2 separate regions of the Homo sapiens genome follow, and region 1 is linked to region 2. The links are contacts of gene promoters, found by promoter capture Hi-C in human tissues and cell types (Jung and others, 2019). All regions are on one chromosome and are shown on one strand. Each heading gives the region's core, a stretch centred on a gene start or on the middle of the fragment in contact. The rest is flanking DNA. Distances are from core to core; before and after follow the strand shown.

The links. Contacts are between HindIII fragments. The study calls those that stand out against the background at their distance.
Region 1: a fragment that was not itself captured here is called in contact with the fragment with the promoter of TAPT1 in region 2 in 1 of the 25 tissues and cell types used here (dorsolateral prefrontal cortex).

Annotation. Positions count from the first base shown.
Region 1 is chr4:17,493,899-17,499,272 of GRCh38, forward strand. All of the region lies in intron 4 of QDPR (quinoid dihydropteridine reductase), which reads right to left. Among named protein-coding and RNA genes, the nearest start is that of QDPR, 16 kb to the right of the region's middle. RefSeq lists an enhancer at 308-602. The HindIII fragment of the contact is 5,887 bases long and covers 1,182-5,374 here.
Region 2 is chr4:16,223,284-16,228,237 of GRCh38, forward strand. It overlaps TAPT1 (transmembrane anterior posterior transformation 1), which reads right to left and starts at 3,188. Exons shown (of 14, transcript NM_153365.3): 1 at 2,976-3,188. The coding sequence starts at 3,174. TAPT1-AS1 (TAPT1 antisense RNA 1) reads left to right here and starts at 3,380. Exons shown (of 3, transcript NR_027697.1): 1 at 3,380-3,894. RefSeq lists silencers at 2,741-3,120, 3,231-3,280, 3,291-3,390, 3,401-3,470, 3,531-3,730 and an enhancer at 4,241-4,300. The HindIII fragment of the contact is 8,869 bases long and covers 1-4,954 here.

The DNA.
Region 1 (5,374 bases), core at 2,875-5,374, 1.3 Mb after region 2:
AGTATAAACTCAGGTGTGATCCAGAGGGGCTCATAACGACACACAGGAATAGAGTACTTAATTGTGAGCATACCCTTAGCACAGGACAGGCACTCAATGAAGGTTTCCCATCAAATCAATAGAAGTAATGTGCCCTGGAACCCGACTACCTGGCTTCGTGTCCAGGCTCTGCTGCTTGCTAGTGACTGACACTGGGAGAGGCTACTAAACCTTGGAATCCTCAGTTTCCCATTTCGTGAAATGGGAATGACAATCCCAAATCCTAAGGATAATACAACAATCAAATAAAATACCATGTACAAGTGTAGCAGACAGGGAGGGTCTCCAAGGACTATAGGAGTTTCATCAGCTTGAACAATCAGCCTGTTTCACAGGCTCCTGCCCTTCAGCCTGGTTTTTCCCACAACTTGCATGGAATGCAGTCACCAAGTCAGGTGAAACCAGCAACTTATAGAGATGATCCCAAGTGGACTTTCCTCATTACCATGCTACAGTCTCCACCCGGGAGGAGCTACAGCTTCATCACCAGAACATGTGACTATGTGCTGGCGTGATGACTCACTGCATCTGTGCCACTGGGACCCCTCCTCCACATGCAATGACACACCCTTTCCCCTCTCCATCACCCCATGAAACCCTCCTGGGAGAGACGCTGCTTTGGAGAATACTTCCAGCATCCTCCTTAATTATGTCAAGTAATAAAACTCCATTGATTGTTTTTTTTCCAGGTTAACAAATCCCCTTTGTACAGTACTGAGCACAGAGGAACACTCAATCCTGGCCATTATTGTCATTCATGACTCTCAGCAGGTCACTGGCAACTCTTTTTCCTCGGACAGCAATAAGGAATTGCAAAAAGGGTCATCAACTTGGAATTCAAAAAGTGCAGCCCTAACTCCTGTTTTTCCAGCCACCAAAAAAAATCACAGGTTCTGTGGGCCTGCTTTTCCATCTGTCAGTGGGAGTGGTAACTCAGATCACAATTTATTCACAAGGCTCTGCTGAGGATGGAAGGAGACTGCATCCAACAAGGGCCTTGGAAACCATGGAGGGCACGCACAGAACCCGATCAGGGCGGAGGGAGCCCAGCCTGGTGTAGGAGGGGCTTTGCTCAGCACCTTGCCAGGGAGATGTTCTCCCAGTGACTGCGGCAGGGAGGGGGTGATGCTTCTCCCACTCTCCCAGCTCATCATTATTCATATTATCATAGATGATTCCTCTCCAGATCAAGCAGTCATCTGCGGCCCATCCGGGGCATTTCCTTCCTTATCAGCAGTGGAAGGACTGTGGCATGACGGGGATGGTGACAACTCTGGCCTTAACACCATCAAACCAACCTGCCATCACTCTGCTGCCTGTAAAGCCAGAGCCTGGAAAGGGGCTGCCAGGGTCTGCCTGCTCCCGGGCATCAAAACCCACTTACCCCACCCCATGTCATGGAGCCTCTTCTATGTGGGAATCCCTAGGCTCAGTGTTAGAAAGACGAAGAAGCACAAGGCAGCTCCCTGGCTCCCAGGAACGGCACAGCACACCAGAAAGAACCCAGAATCTGGACTTCGAGGCCAGGGGTTGGAACCCAGGTGATTCCTCACCACTGTGACTTGGGCGAGCAGCTCTTTCAGCCTCTGGTTCTTCCCTGCTAAATGGGATCCAATGCTAAGCTAAATAGGCTTTCCTGAAAACGACATGAAACGTGACACATCTCATAAACTCGAAAGGGCTCTTTCATTCCCAGAAGAATGTAAGTTCCACAGAGGCAGGGATTTTTATTGTTTTGTTCACCAATGTATCCCAAACCAAAAGGTGGCAATCAATAAATACTTTATTTGGCCAGGTGAGGTAGTTCAGGCTTGTAATCCTAGCACTTTGGGAGGCTGCGGCAAGTGGATCTCTTGAGCCCAGGAGTTTGAAACCAGCCTGGGCAACATGGTGAAACCCTGTCTCCACAAAAAATACAGAAATTAGCCAGGTGTGATGGCGAGCGCCTGTAGTCTCAGCTACCCGGTAGGCTGAGGTGGAAAGACGGCTGGAGCCCCCGGGAGGTCGAGGCTGCAGTGAGCCAAGATCACGCCACTGCACTCCAGCCTGGGTGACAGAGCCAGACCATATCTCCAAAAAAAAGGAAAATAAATAAATAAATAAATAAATAAATACTTTATTCACTGCTTTCAGAAAAGAGCAATAGGTGGGTTTCTCAAAGGAGGATAATGGGGCTTAATCAAATGGTGGCCACTCAAAAACTGTGGGAATGAAAAAACAAACTGGGGCCAGGTGCGGTGGCTCACGCCTGTAATCCCAGCACTTTGGGAGGCCAAGGCAGGTGGATCACCTGAGGTCAGAAGTTCAAGACCAGCCTGACCAACGTGGGGAAACTCCGTCTCTACTAAAAATACAAAGTTAGCTGGGGGTGGTGATGCATGCCTGTAATCCCAGCTGCTCCAGAGGCTGAGGCAGCAGAATTGCTTGAACCAGGAGTCAGACGTTGCGGTGAGCCAAGATTGCGCCATTGCACTCCAGCCTGGGCAATAAGGGCAAAACTGTCTCAAAAAAAAAAAAAAAAAAAAAAAAAAAAAAGAACAAACTGGTAGCTCTGTTCATTAAAACTATGGTAGGTGATTCTCAGTAACTCGTGAGTTTCTCAATATTCCAGACAAACTAACTTTTAAATTATTTAATCTATGATGAAGTGAAAAGAATAAGGCATGGAAAAGCCTCTATCGAGTCATCAAATTATGGTGCTTTTCTTTTTTTTTTTTTGAGACAAGCTTACTCTGTTGCCCAGGCTAGAGTGCAATGGTGCAATCTCAGCTCACTGCATCCTTCACCTCCAGGGCTCAAGCAATCCTCCCACCTCAGCCTCTTTTTTTGTTTGTTTGGAGACAGAGTCTCACTCTGTCACCCAGACTGGAGTGCAGTGGCGCAATCTCGGCTCACTGCAACCACCGCCTCCCAGGTTCAAGCGATTCTCCTGCCTCAGCCTCCTGAGTAGCTGGGATTACAGGTGACTGCCACAACAGCTGGTTATTTTTGTATTTTTTAGTAGAGATGGGGTTTGACCATGTTGGCCAGGCTGGTCTCGAACTCAGGTGAACCACCCGCTGTGGCCTCCCAAAGTGCTGGGATTACAGGCATGAGCCATCGCGCCCTGCCAAATTATGGTGCTTTTTAAAAAGTATGTGAATGTGACATGGGCACACACTAGAATGGGCACAGAATGCTTCCCAAAGGACACCTGAGAAGCCATCACTGTAGTTGGGCCTGGGAGGGAGTGCCATAGAGATCAGCGGTGTGAGTAGGAGAGAGTCTTCCTATTCATTGTGTTTCTTTTAGTGCCATGTGAATTTTTACTACATGCATTGGTTAGTTTTCCAATTTAAAAACTGATTAAATTATTTAAATAAAAACTAATACAGTGCCTTGTCTTTTCCCATAAGCTCTATTTGTCAAAGCAAGTCCTTTTCCAAGACCCTGTTTGAATCAGCTCCCTCAACAAAACCTTTTCAGAGGTGGACTCACCCCCACCAAGAGCACTCCGCTTAGACCGTAATGTAGCCCGGTCTCACACTCACACCACCCGCACCCTTGCTGCCGGAGGAGGCTCTGAATATAATTATATTATCTCTATATAATTATATTATCAGTAATTGCTATAATTACTGATTATAATTATATATTAATTACTGATCAATGTATTACTCAGACCAATCTGCTACTAACTAGCTAGGTTGTCTTAGACAAGGCACCTAAAATCACTGAACTTTTTTTCCTCCATAATCAAGGGAAAATAATAGGACCTACTTTACAGATACCTCTGGTGATGAAATAAGATCAAGCTTAGCCCAACAAGCCAAGCACCCAGAAGACAGATGCCTAAAAATATTTCTTTCTTTTTCGCCAAGTCTGTTGAGGTATAACTGAAACACAATAAACTTAAACACATTTAGGGTGTACCATTTGAGCAAATTTTGACATTGTGTATACCTGCTACCTATTGGTCTTCCTTTCCTCCCACTATTCGATGGATATTTGCTGACAGAAGCAAGGGATGTCTTTTATTAAGGTAGGTTTCCCTCTGCCCCGCAGGCATGTGGCAGGAATGGAGTCTTTCCTCTTTATGTTCCCCCACTGTGCCCAACTGTAGCTGCTCACTAAATGCTGCTATCACAGAATAATGATAGCAAGAAGGAATGATGAGTCACTGTAAACTTCTCCACCTTCTGAAAACCACTATTTCTTCTAGAGGTCATCAGGCTCCCTAAAATCCTCGGCACACACACTGTTTAAGATGTAATTGCTGTGGAGGCATCGCAAGTCCAGCGGGAGGTGGGGGGATGACAGCCCAGCCAAGGGACCAATCACAAAACTGCTTCAACAACTACCTCAAATTGCAAAAGAGGGTCAAGGTCTCAAAGAGCTATTTGGAAGCACAAGAAGAATATTTCGCCATCCTTAGCTTCTCTGTTTAATCAGGGGGCATAACAAACTCTTCAGTGATTAAAATAAACCAGGGCATAAGTGCTCATTAACCCAGCCCTGGTCCTCAAAATCCCAGAGCTCTCTCTTGACTCCATTCGAACAACACAACACAAGAGCAGGGACTCTGACAAAGGAAAGAAACAAGCAAATAGCAACCGTAATGGCTTAATTCTAAAGAATGACCTTTCCTTGGGGACACAAAAGGGGTTATTTGCAAGATATGAAAAAAAAGACATTTCACTAAGAAGGTCAACACTTCCAAATTACTGAATGATCAGTGTGGTCCCCCAAAACTGATTTCCAATCACAGCACAGATCCTTTAATGGTAAACAAAAGTGAACACCATTTTAATACTGTTTGTCCTACAGAAGACAGTCTAGAAATACAAACTTGGAAATAGGAGGGTGAGGTTTTCTCAGTATCCTTCCAAGTGAAAAACTTCTGATGTGCAAACAAATCTTCTTGAGTTTGAGGGACTACTAAGCCTGATTCATCATTTACTTTCAAATTGTAGATCTATTTCCCCAGATTTTTCTGAGGTCTGCAGCATACTTAAAAGATCTCATGACTCAAATTATTAATAGCTTAACAAAATCTAACTTAAGAGGTTAAAGATGAACAAATTCATTAACATCTGAGGCAGAACAGCTGGGCAGAAATAAGCCTGGAGTAAATAATAATAATGGCTCACACTTACTATTGACTCTCTGTAATACCTTTCTCATCCATTTAGATCCATTGAGACATTTACAAGGTACAACCACCATATATATAAAGGAGACACTATTTTATCTTATTTTACAGATGACAAAACGCAGACTCAGAAAGGCGAAGTAACTTGCCGAACGTGTCACAGTAAGTGGCAGAGCCTTAAGAGAAGTCCAACGTGCACAGTTC
Region 2 (4,954 bases), core at 1,938-4,437:
CTAGGACTTCTGCAGATGAATCAAGTGGGGAACAAGCACAAAAACATAACATTGATTATTTGGTTTTATGTCAAAAGGAACAACAGAAGTTGGTAGTATTTTCAAGGACAGGAAGAAAATACAGAAGAGATCAATCTGCAGTTCTTGATAACCACTACATCCAGAGTTCAAGGCCAGTAACCACATATGCAACAAGGAAATACACAATGACCATTCTGAGAGAGCAAATAAAAACAGGAATGATGAGTGGGATTCCCAATTCTAACTATGTTAAAAGGTGTAAGTACTCGCATCTGAGACATGCGTCAGCCTATTGCCAGGCTAAATATAAGTCAGAACGGGAGTTCTGAGAACGAAGTGATGAGGAAAAGAAAGCTTAGACTTAATGGAGACACATGTTTAGTATAATACAATATAGAGCATATACAGCTATTCATACAGACAAATATACATATCTAGTTTCTAAACATATAAATCAACAAGGAGAGATATAAAACAAAAAATGAACCTCAGACACCACGTTTTATTTTATTCAGATGGAAAGAGTTTGGATAAGTACCTAATATGTACATTCATTTAGGGAATTCTAGGCTGTTGGGACTGATCAACAAATGTCTTACCTGTAGGAGCCCTAAATTCCTTGTGAGAAATGATAAAGGGAACTTTGGAACTGACTGATGGTTCAGCCACCAAGACACTAAGATTATGACTTTCAAAAAGAAAAGCCAAAGGTTGCCTTAACTTGCAGGGGGATCTAGATCTCAAGGGCAGTGGTGCTAGACTCTCAGAGGCACACAAGAATATAAAAAAATCAACAAGTAATACCTTAAGTCCGAGCATCTAGCCGTGGAGGACTAGTTTGATTCAGGGAGAAATGCTATCCAAATGACTCCAGGTGCTGCCACTCAAAGGCCCTCTGACCCAGGCCAGCTCCTAGGGAATCGTTTTTAAAAATTCTTAAAAGGAGGGGAAGGAAGGATTACAGAGCAGGGGAAGAGGGCAGCGCTAGACTTAGCAGCCTGGGCATTGAAGAAGGACTAAAATAATTGTTTCTAGTGGGGAAACCTCTAACAAATATGGTTATCGGAGCTACAGACTGGGTGCTAGCAGTGGCAGGAGCTATGTGACTAGCAGAGCAGGGACACCAGGGGAAAAGAAGGAGGGGCTTATGTGGAGGCTCAGAGAGAACACTGGCCAGTGGCTCCAGCTGAAATACTCCTGGAATTTGGAATTCTCACCTAAATCCTGATCGCCAAGGCTAGTGTGACTTGGTAAAGCAGGAGTGGCCACTGACATCTCCTCACACAAAATCAATGGAACTGGGGAAAGAACAAGGACTACCCCAACAGCTAAACCTGGAGGCATCTCCCTGATAATGACTTCCTGCAACTATGGGTTAAAAAAAATCCAGCCTTAAACATGGTGAACCATGTTGGTGAAGAATGGATACGTGGTATAATGAAGTCCATGGAAGTCCAGGTATCCAGTCCCAGAAAAAGCCAGGGAAGAAGTGTTAAGTGATACTGCAAGCTCAAGATCTGTGCTCATCAATAGGCTTCAAACAACTTCATTTCCTCTCCACGCAAACAACAAAAAAAGGCTTTTAAAATGGTGGCTTTCCTGCAACTGAGAAATGTTTTAAAGAAAGTATAGTGAAGCCTGGCTACATCTATCTCTATTTACAACAGAGTGCTTTTAATATTCAAGTCTAAGTAAGTAAACAGACAGTTGAGAGATTTGCTATTTTGTCTTACTGAGATCCTGCCAATGAAGAAAGTAAATACTCTTGAAAGCAAATGTTTAACTGAGAACTAAACCAAATAAAGTATGGTTGAGAATTTTTAAGTGGTTAATTGAAAAAGACCAAACAAGACCGTCTGTAATTTTCCAAAAATATAGACTGCTTCAAATAGAACCTACGTCCAGTTCTGGGAATCAGCAAATCAATTAGAATCGCATCTGATCAACTTTATGCCCCTTAAGTAGTTTTAAAATTTCAGTACTCAAGTACAATCAATGATGTAATCAGCCTCACAACTTAGTTATTTGCATGAACTTCAGGAAATAACGGCTAACACAGCCCCTTTTGGACAACAGAAGTAATTTTTTAGTTGGAAGAAATTTAATGGAGTTATGGTTCAGTTGCTGTTTACAGCTTGAGAATTAAAACGTTGGGTTCACTCTATATTCAAGAAGACATCCATCTCAAAACCTTTTTTCATTTAAAACTAATCTGTAACTGCAATATGAATACAAATGCAAGTTTTAAAAATTCTTTTAAAATGAGAATAAAAACCTACAGCTTATAGAAACTGTAACATTGTAACAATACGTTTAAAACTGGTCATTGAATGTAGGATTCATAAGTACACATTTTCTCATCTAGTAATTTTTTTGGCATAAGTTTCAGTTCAGGAAAAGTTCAGATGCAACATTTTATGGAGTGTTAAATATTTCTGTACTGGGCAAAACTACTGAACTTCATGGTCACTACCACACCGTCAGCTGTCTGTGAAAAATCTACTTGCAGGGCAAGTTAACAGGTTTCTATGGCTCAAGTTTGCTTAAAATACAGAACAAAAAAAGTCACCTTGGCATGAATATAATTAAGAAATCAGCCGTGTGCTTCTCACGTTTGGGCTCCGAGACGTGGGAGATGCCCGCTAACCTAAGACCTTCCGAGGGCGATGCAAGGACCCGGACAGAACTTTCCCGGCCGCAGACCCCTTCTAGGGCACACCTGGCCTGGCGCGGCCGCGGGGGCCTCGGGGCTGCGCGCGCAACCCGCCCGAGGAACTGTCAACGGCCGCGGAGCCTCGGCAGCCTCGGCGGCTCCGCGCGCCCACAGCCTGGGGAGCCCCGGGAGGCAACGGCAGCCGCGCGGCTCGGGGGCCGGGGTTCCAAGGCGCCCCCGCCGCCCTCGGTCCCCAGTCCGCCCCTCGGAGCCCGCCACGGCCTAGCGCCGCCCGCCTCACCTGTGCGGCCCCGGCGCCTCTCCCGCCGCCGGTCGCTCTCGTAGAAGCCCAGCGTCTCTGTGAGCTGAGGCGCCGGCGGGGGCCCCTGTCCGCCGCTGCCGCCCGGCTGCTCCGCCTCGCCGCGGCCGTCCCGCTGCGGGCCGTCCACGCCGCCACCGCCGCCTTCTCCCGGAGCGGCCGCGTCGCCGACGCCCGCCATGTTCCGAGCACAACAAACTGTCCCCGCCGCCTCCCTCCAGCCTCTGCCTCCGGCCGGCCCCCTCCCCGCCTCGCCCCGCCCCTCGCCGGAGCCCGAGCCGCCGCCGCCGCCGCCGCCATCCGCGGCCCGCCGACCGGCGCGAGCCATTGGCGTCAGCGACGCGTGTGAGGCCGCTGCCGCCGCCGCCGCCGCCACGGTAGCCGCCATCTTCTTCCTGCCCTCGCCGTGGCGGGCGACGGTTTCTCGCGCCGTGGCTGGCTCGGCCGGCCGGGGCACCGCGCCGGGCTCCATGCAGCCGGGCTGCGCGGTCCCGCAGAGCGGGCGCCTCCGGGGCTCGAGTCGGGGACCCGGCAGGAGCGGGCCGGGGATGGCGGCGGCGGGCGGCGGGTCGGCCGTGGAGCCCCGGAGAGGCGGCCGCCACCACCGCTGCCCGCAGTCTGCGAGGTGTCCGGCGGTCCGCTCAGGGCCTCTTTTGCAGACTCGGTGCCCGGAGTGCGCCGGCGCCGCCCGCCAGGTCTTGGCACTGCTGGCGCGGCCGCGGCGGCGGGGGCCCGGCTCCAGATCACCGACCCCCACGAGCGCCGGCCCTGCCTGCCCGCTATTTTGGTTCCATCTCTTCTGCATATTTATGCTTGCCTGTTACATTCCCTGGCCTCTGAGTGTCCTTTGGCAGTTTCCAAAGCATTTGGGCAAGAAGGAGCTTGGGCAGCTTCACAACAGGTGGGGACGCGCAGGGGAGGGGCCGCGGCCGGACCGGCAGAGTTTCAAGGGCTGGCGCGCCGGCGGACTTTCCACACTGTCTTTCGGGACTGGGGTTAGGAGACAGCCCTTGGCCACCACTGTGTCCTTACTTTGTCGCTTTACTTGGGGCTGGACCTCCCCTTTCCAGCTCTGGCGTGTGACCCCGCAACGAGCGTGGTGTCGAGACCACCACCAGCTGGGGCGGTGGGAGCGAAGGTGCCCCAGGCTCGGGGAAGGTGGAAACCTTTTCCCCGCTCCCCAAGTGATTGTTGCGCGCTCCGGTGAGGGGACAGTGGTACCTCGATTTCCCGTGTGCCAGCTTCGGGACTCAGCTGTGCTTTTGTGTCTCTTTGATTAGCAAAAGCAAAACGAATTCCTCCCCGAACACTAAGCTTCCTGGAAACTTCCCTAGACCTAAACTTGAGAACCGCATATAAATGGGCCTTGAGGGTTCTGTCGTCAGTAGCGGGTTACGTGATTGCAAACGAGCAAGTTTAAAACGGAGTGGGCTTTGGGCTGCAGAGCCGCCTGGCATTCTGACAGCTGAGCAGGAGGCAGAGGTGAGAGTCCAAGATGGACTAAAAATGTCCCAGCAGCTGGGAGCCCAACCTCGGCCCAACCTCGTTGAAAGGAGGAACATTCGGTGCAGCCGTCGGAACCTTATTATTTATGAAAGGGGACAGCTCACAGGATTACATTTTTCTAAGCCAATCCTGTGACCATCCTCCATGAAATTCTCTATTTTGGTTGCATGTGGTCAAAACTGAGCCTCACTGAAACAATTGAAAACAAATACTCCCGACAAATCTTAAGAATCGTTTTGAAAATCAAAAGGTGGGGAAAATGTTGTGGCTTCTGAGCTTTCTTCAGCCCATATTCTATTATTCTCTGATGTTTTATGGTGTAAAATCATACCCATTCCATTATGTATTGATTGTCAAGAAGGAAGTAGGCTTTTATTGCTATTTTTATGTCAGTTTCCATTTACTGTCTCACCACATTTATTGGGTTATTGCCTTTGCCTTTGACTCAACAGGAG